Regions from separate parts of the Homo sapiens genome. Here region 2 is linked to region 1. Evidence: promoter capture Hi-C in human tissues and cell types (Jung and others, 2019). All regions are on one chromosome and are shown on one strand. Each heading gives the region's core, a stretch centred on a gene start or on the middle of the fragment in contact. The rest is flanking DNA. Distances are from core to core; before and after follow the strand shown.

Region 1 (3,845 bases), core at 391-2,890:
GGATGTGACCACGTCTTCTTGTTCAGTGGGGTCAGAGGCCAGGTGGGGGCAGAGGCTAGGTGGGGGCAGATGCCTGGCAGATCGCCCAGCCCAAAGTGGTGGATGGTACCTGCTTAACCTGTCCTAAACACCGTCCCTCTTTGGACAGCTTCACCTCCCCCAACCGCCAACCTCCGCGCGCTCTGAGGCCACGGCAGAGAGACCTCTGAAGCCTGGACATGCTCCTGGGCATGAGGGCGTCTGGTGGAGTGAGGGGGACCCAGGAGGCTGGGTGCAACCTCCTCCTCCTTCCTCCACTGTGCATAGCTCTTCCCCTCCTCCTTGCAGCTGTTGGGGAAGGAGAACAGAAGAAAGAGAAAAACACTGTTTCCCTCTTCAAACCAAAACAAACACACTCAGGGTTGAAGATCCAACACGAATCTGTGGAATGCAGGGAAGATGTCTGCGGGGAGAGTGCCACTGCTTGCGGGTGGGCAGGAGGAGACCCAGCCAGAGTTGGGACAAGTCCTCCTCTCTCTTTCACCGCCCCTATCCTCAAGGCGTCAGAGGGAGCGTATGGACAGCTCCAAACGCCCAGACTCACCCATCGCCTCACCCTCCATCCGCCAAGCCAGCGGTTGAGAAGGCCATCCAGTCTGGCTCTGCAGAGGGTGTGGCTGGCGTGGCCGCAGACTACCAGCGAGGTGCTTAAATGTATATGCTCATTTTTCCCCCAAGCGTACGGGAAGGGGGGAGTCCGCTGGGTGTTTATCTTGCAGTTTACCCCAGCTCCCAGCCCTGGAGAGAACAGGCTAGTGCTGGGTACTCGGTTCACAGAATGGGAGAGGACTCAGCCACCGGGACCCCACTTCCGCTCTCATGAGAGATCTAAAGGGCGGAGGGGTGGCGTCCAGACAGGTTCTGGCCCCGTCAGCACTTGCCAATGATTACTGCCCGACCCCACACCCAATCCTCCACTTCCCGCCAACCCCCAGCAGCCAGAGGGCCGCCCCTTAATCCTGGCTCCCAAGGGCCAGCTGCCCTGGGCTCCGACTCAGCTCCGGACCCGCATCCCGCGCTCGCACACTCTCTCGCTCCCACCCCACACCCTCCAGCTTCACTTACAGGTAGCGCTGCTGCCGCTCTGTCTGCCGATGGAGGGCGACCGAGTAGCCGAAGAGGCTGCCCGGGTTCCCGGCCTCCTTCACTACCAGGAATCGGGTATCCAGGTTGAAGGCGGAGACGACGCAGCCGCCGGCCGCCACCATCAAGGCGAGCGCACAGAGCATCAGGCGTGGGGCGCGGGGCGCGCGGCTGGGGCCGGGGCCCATGGCTGCCAGCGGAAGCGGGGTCCCGGCGAGAGCGCGTGAGGGCGCGGAGCTGGGCGTGAGGACCTGTTCACCTGCTCCCCGCGCCGCCGGAGGACACTGGAACCCGCCGGCCGCTGCGCTCCGTAGCGCTGATCGGTTTCGTGCCCCCAGCCCCAGCCAGTTTCACAGCTGCGCTCTCGGATCCCTTCCTAAGATCCGTGGGTCTATCTTCCTGCCTCCCCAGCGGCCGGGTCGCCGCCGTCCCTGCCCCGGGCAACCGGCCCCCAGCTTGTCCCGGCCGCGCCCCCTTGGCCGCGCTGTCGCCTTCGATCCCGGCTTCGCGGCGGATCTGGCAAGCGCACCGGTCGACCGCAAGGAGGACAGGAGGGAGGGGTCCCCCGGCGCGCGCCCCGCCTCCCCACGCCCAGTCCCGCACCTCCCCACCTTGCGAGCCCAGCCCGGGCTGCGCTTTCCTTCCGGGGAAAGAGAAAAAGATCCCGGCTCGGCCGCCTCCTCTTAAAGGGGCAGCACCGCCCCTCCCTCCTCATCCTCCCTACCCCAGCTCCGCCTTCTCCCCCAAACACCTGTCGGCAACCCCCAAAGGCTTAGATTTCCCCTCCCCGCCCCTCGCTTCTCCGAGAAAGCGTCGCCTGGGGAGCAAGATGGATGTGACGGGCGGGGCCGGGGGTGGGATTTGTCTGGCCGCTTTCCTGCGGCTGCTGCTGCTGCTGCTGAAAAGGCCAGCCGGGCTGGAGAGACCTGGCATTGGCGCATCTGGGAACCGACGTCCGTGCGCGGCTGGCTAGAATGCTGGACTCGCCTCCGCAGCGCTGTGAGTCCCCAAGAGGTGGCTGGCGGTCTCTGGGAGTTCTTCCTCGCACTCAGGCCCCTCGCTGTCTTTGCCGAGATTTATTTCTCCTATCCACTCACCCTGATCCGAGCTGAGATTGGCTCCTCAGCAAAGACAGACATATTTAGCAGTGGTAACAACCAAATGTCGCTAATTATAATTACCAAAAAGCATTTTTCCCCCTAAGTGCTGCGACTTCTGGTATCAAAGGCTAAGACTGTCAATGTAGAAATGAGTCCGTCCTTCACAGAACGCACTGCGTAGCCGGGAAGCTGAGCCTAGACCGTATCCATTTCTCGTCCACTCCTGCCTTCAGGGCCCAGCCCAGCAGAATCCCAGAGGCTCCCTCTTCCCACCCAAGCTCGAACAGAGTGTTTGGAGACTGGGCTCGGACGTCAGCACCCATCAGGTGTTTGGTGGGTAGGGCCAGGTGGCAGTAAGTGGGCGGAGACTAAAGGTCTCCTCCACCAAGGAATCAAATCGAAAGGGAACTTCAAGAGGTTACTCTGGCCAGGCGCAGTGGTTCACGCCTGTAATCCCAGCACTTTGGGAACCCGGGGAGGGCGGATCACGAAGTCAGGAGTTCGAGACCAGCCTGGCCAATGTGGGGAAACCCTGTCTCTACTAAAAAAATACAAAAATTAGCCGGTCGTGGTGGCGGGCGCCTGTAGTTCCAGCTATTTGGGAGGCTGGGGCAGGAGAATCGCTTGAACCCGGGAGGCGCAGGTTGCAGTGAGCCGAGATCGCGCCACTGCACTCCAGCCTGGGTGACAGAGTGAGACGTCGTCTCAAAAAAAAAAAAGAGGTTACTATGTACTTTCTTGGATCTAACTCACATTTCTCTTATTGCAGCTCAGAGACCCATTTTCCCCGGAACATTGTTTTTTTGTTTTGTTTTGTTTTGTTTTTGAGACGACGGAGTCTCGCTCTGTCTCCCAGGCTGGAGTGCAGTGGCGCGATCTCCGCTCACTGCAACCTCTGCCTCCGGGGTTCAAGCGATTCTCCTGCCTCAGCCTCCTGAGTAGCTGGGATTACAGGCGCCCACCACCATGCCCGGCTAATTTTTGTATTTTTAGTAGAGACGGGGTTTCGCCGTGTTGGTCAGGCTGGTCTCGAACTCCTGACCTCGTGATCCACCCCGCCGCCTCCCAAAGTGCTGGGATTACAGGCGTGAGCCACCCTGCCTGGCCTCCCCGAGCATTCTTTTCTCCATCTATTCTTAAAATAATAAGAACAAAACACCATGTATTAAGCACATACGCAGCAGGAACTATGCTAAATGCTTCACAAATGTTAAATCCTCACAACAATCTTTGAAGTGTTATCTCTGTTTTAAAACGAGAAAAATGAGGCTCAGGGAGGTTAGGCAATTTGGCAGAGGTCACACAACTAGGATTTTCATCCTGTGTTATCTGACCCTGGAGCCCTTAACTACTTATGCTAATAATGAACATTTATACACTACTTTGGGCGTGTCCAAGTTTGGTGGGTCCTGAAGCTTGTGCAATCTGGGGTGCTCTTTAAGAATAAAATTATTTTGTACTCATAAGAATTATGAGTACAAAATTAGATTCAGAGCCTGGGAAAGGGTCCTGGCCTAGCTTTACAGTTTACAAATCATTTCACAAGCAGGCTCATTTTATCCTCCTGGCCTCCCTGTGAGGTGGGGATTATGATATTCATTTGACTTAGGAGAAAACAGAGCC
Region 2 (3,845 bases), core at 809-3,308, 290 kb before region 1:
TTTGTATCCCCAGTATTAGCACAGTGTCTAGTACAAAGTAGGACTTCACACCTATTTGTGGAATGAATGAATGAATGAATGAATCGTATTCCCAATGCACAGTGCTGGGATAATAAGAGTTATTTATTTACTGACAGCTGAGCATGTGCCAGGAACTCCTGCAAGTGCTTCACAGGCATCATTTTCACTTAATCTTTATAATCACCTAACACGGGAGGTGCCATTATTATCCCCATCTTGAGGAGGGATACTGATAAGGATAAGGGAGGAGGCAAAGTGATTTGCTGGTGGTCTTCTCAGGGTCAGAGCTGGAAGAGAGTGGTGAAGTGGGTGGTCCAGCTTCAGCACTCACCTTCCCATGCACCCCGTTATGCTGCCTGGCAACCCCAGAGTCAGGTGAGGGAGCAGCTGAGGGGGTCCAAGCAGCAATGGGTGCCTGGACCGCACAAGCTTTTTCAAACATTCCAGCCCAGGATTCCCCTATTCATTCAGCCAGGAAGCTGGAGGAGGAGGTGGTGGGGGATGGGGGCGGTAGCCCAGAGTGGTCACATATTCCAGGGTCAGAGGGCTCCCTAACTGCTTTGGCAGCCCATTCCATCTTGGAATGTCCCATCTGCCCAAACAGTCTTCTTACACTGGGCCTGAAACACTCTCCTACTTGCTTGTCCTACTTGTAGGTCTACACCCCACGGATGTCACGGAGCCAGCCCCACCCCCGCCCCCACCTCCTTTTGGAGTTATGGTCTCATGTGACTCTGTTCCAGCCCCCATCACCATCCCACCCTCTGGGTTCTCCCAAAAAAAGGCAAGGGCAGCTCTTCTGTCTCCACACCAGGCCTTCCAGACTGGCGAGATGCGGTAAGGGGTCGCGGGTATCGGGGCTTGCCGGAGGACAGCAGCAGATAGAGTCTCTGACCCGGAGCCCTGGAGGCAGCAGAACAGGGGCGCTGGGGGCAGGGAGGTCCTGACCTCTGGGCCACAGCTTAGGGCTGTGGTGTGGCCTGTCCTCTCCATCTCCGCAGCACGAACCCAGACCCAATGGACCCTTCCTCACCACACCGCTGAGGTGTCTGAGCCTCCCGCTGAAACCACATCGGGGAAGAGGGAGAAAGACCCTCGAGGCAGGGACTTGGGGGCTGAGACGGCTGTTGGTTGCCCCTGCTCTGCGGCTGGGGCTCTGTTACAGTCCCCATTCCCTTAAAGCCAGAGGGCCCCTCCCTAATTCCCTAAGGTCCTGAGGCCAACTCACCAGCTCAGTTCCTCCTCTCCCTGCCCTCCGGAGACCCATCCAGGTTCTTCAAACCCCCGGCTGAGGAAGCCACACCTCGGGAATACTCCAGTTCTCTCCTTCGGCGTCACTCCCTGTTCCTTCAGTTCCCGGGTACACACTTTGTCCCAGGCCTGAATTCCACCCCCGAGCTCCCCTTCCTCACCGGCCGCTGCCCCTCGGGCTCAGCTGGGGAAGGACGCCCTGAGTCCCTTGGCCCTACTCCTCCGCCCACGGCGCGCATATCCCCGCCCCCTCCCAACTTCAGAAAGTTTGGCCTGGGGCTCCCCACCTCCGAGCAGGTTCGGGCCCAGCCCCGCCTCCCAGCCCCGCTCGCCGCGCCTGACCTTCATCGCTCCCTTGGCCGGAGACCACCCTAGCATGACCTGCTCCCCCCGCCCGACTCCCAATCCACCAGGGCCCGGGTCTCCAGGTCACGCACTGCCCCCGCGCGCAGCTCCCTAGGCCTGCTGGGGAAGGGAGTGCCGGGGGCCGGATGCTCCGCTCTGGGCGACCGCCGGCGCCCCGCACGCACGCACGCGGCCCGTGCCCCACTTCCCCGGCTGGGGCCGCCCGCAGCCCCGCCAGGACCCCGCGCGCCCCCGCGCCCGGCCTGCCCGCCCGCCCGGCCGTCGGAGCACCTCGCCCGCCTCGTCCTCCTCCAGGCCGCTGAAGCTCCACACTACCAGGCCCTGCAGCAGCAGGATGGCCAGCGCCGTGGCAATCGCCAGCTTGTAGCGCCGCACCAGCTTCTGCACTCGCGCGCTCGCCACCATCTTCCTGCCCGGGACGCGGGGCGCGCGCCCAGCCCTGCAACCCGGCCGCGAGCGCGCGCACGGGCGCGGGGCTGAGCCGCCCCCCCTCCTCCACGCCTAGGGAGGCGGGCCGGGCGCGCGCCGGGGCGGGGCCGGGGGCGGGGCCTGCGGGGCCAAAGCACGGCGCACCGCAGGCTAGGGGTGGAGCCGGGGCTCGCAACACCTTCAGTCCCGGCAGTCGCGGGCGTGGGCTTGAGCGCGTGCCTTCTGCGCTCGTGTCTCCGCCGGTGCCCCTGGCTCCCACGTGTGCTCCCCTCCACCTGGACGGCGAGCGCCTGGTGCTGGGGAGTGGAGGGTCTGCGGCACAACCTCTCTTGCCTGGTGTCGGGGGTCGTGGGCGAGTTCAGTCCCACGCGGGTAAGCTCTCGGTCCCGGGGGCCCAGGGAACGCCAGGGCTCCCAGAGACGCCGCCTTGGGAGAGGGCGTGTGAGAGCCACAGGCGTCTGCTTAAAAACCTGGAGGCCGCACCTGCGGGGCAAAGTCTAACCCCTTGACTGGCATCAGAGAGCCTTCACGAATCCTCCTTTCCGCTCTGCGCTCATCCTAAGCATCCTCAGGCCGCTCCCAGAGTCGTGGTTCTCAAACTACTCTAGCGTGTGTTGGAGTCTCTTGGAGGTCTTGATAAAACAGATTTTTAGTGCCCCTCCTCCCTCCCCCAGAGTGTCTGCTTTGGTAGGTCGGTAGTGAGGCCTAAGCATTAGAATTTTCAGCAGGTTCCCAGGTGATGCTGATGCCTTTGCTCTGGGACCAAACTTGGAGAACCAGTAGACCTCGACACATGCTGCTCCCTCTGCCAAGTCCCCACCCCCTACACCATCAGTGGCATCCTCCCTGTGCGTCCCCAGCACTGTGCAGTGAGCACCAATCATACATCCGGTCGTGACTGCTCTGGGATCTCGCCCTGCCTTGGACACCCAGCAATGCTCAAGAAATGTTGCGGAAAGCAAGCAGGGGAGGCCCAGATTCCCGTCTAACCAGCTGTCCCTAACATTTGTTTGAGAACCCGGCGTGTTCAATGAGCACCGCATTGGACAAGGTCTAAGCACCTGCGGCCTTCCCTAAGCCTGGCAGGCCCATGGAGAGAGGGAAGGCGAGAAGAGCAAAACAGTGGCCACCAAAGCAAGGTGAATCCCCAGCTGGGGAAGCCAGGCACTGGGAGGAGGAAGTCATAAAAATAGCAAACACAAGTTAGAAGGTTTAAAGGGAAGACGTTAGGAACCACTACAGAGAGGTCTGGAAAGAGAAGTGGCTTACAAAAAAAAAAGTTTGAAAAGTTAGAAGGCCATGATGGAGGGGTTTGGAAGTTGCCACAAGGTTGGGTTGATGAGAGAATTCTAAACTGATGTGTACAGGATACACAAGCATTTGATGGTACATAAATAACCTCCTTTAATCGTCTTCTGCGCTTTAGCATTTGTAATCATTCTGTTCCTCCGCGTTTGTTAAATGGGAGAATTGTAAACTATGTTTCCGACGACAGTTTGGCTACTTAAGAGAGCCTACACTTCAATGATTTTGGAAAACATCAGTTGACATCCCGGCAATTGATATGTTAATTAAATATTGATCTTGTGTGCTCATTAAATCAGATCCTCTAGGGACTTCTACCTGCCAAGAATTCCCCCCACAACAATGAAAATAGCTTTATTTTTCACTGATTATATAAGTAATAAATATCCATTATATAACATTTAAACACTAAACGAATAAGAAAAAAAGTAAAAGTCACCTACAATCCCACCCCTTAAGATGATCATCATTAA

What was found. Contacts are between HindIII fragments. The study calls those that stand out against the background at their distance.
Region 2: a contact is called between the fragment with the promoter of XYLT2 here and the fragment with the promoter of ITGA3 in region 1, in 1 of the 25 tissues and cell types used here (IMR-90 fibroblasts).

Annotation. Positions count from the first base shown.
Region 1 is chr17:50,053,905-50,057,749 of GRCh38, reverse strand. It overlaps ITGA3 (integrin subunit alpha 3), which reads right to left and starts at 1,640. Exons shown (of 26, transcript NM_002204.4): 1 at 1,105-1,640. The coding sequence starts at 1,310. PICART1 (p53 inducible cancer associated RNA transcript 1) reads left to right here and starts at 2,011. Exons shown (of 3, transcript NR_038230.1): 1 at 2,011-2,121. RefSeq lists a silencer at 1,567-1,706 and an enhancer at 2,686-3,212. The HindIII fragment of the contact is 12,867 bases long and covers 1-3,845 here.
Region 2 is chr17:50,344,339-50,348,183 of GRCh38, reverse strand. XYLT2 (xylosyltransferase 2) reads right to left here and starts at 2,058. Exons shown (of 11, transcript NM_022167.4): 1 at 1,909-2,058. The coding sequence starts at 2,043. RefSeq lists silencers at 642-936, 1,752-1,841, 1,912-2,011, 2,072-2,271. The HindIII fragment of the contact is 7,409 bases long and covers 8-3,845 here.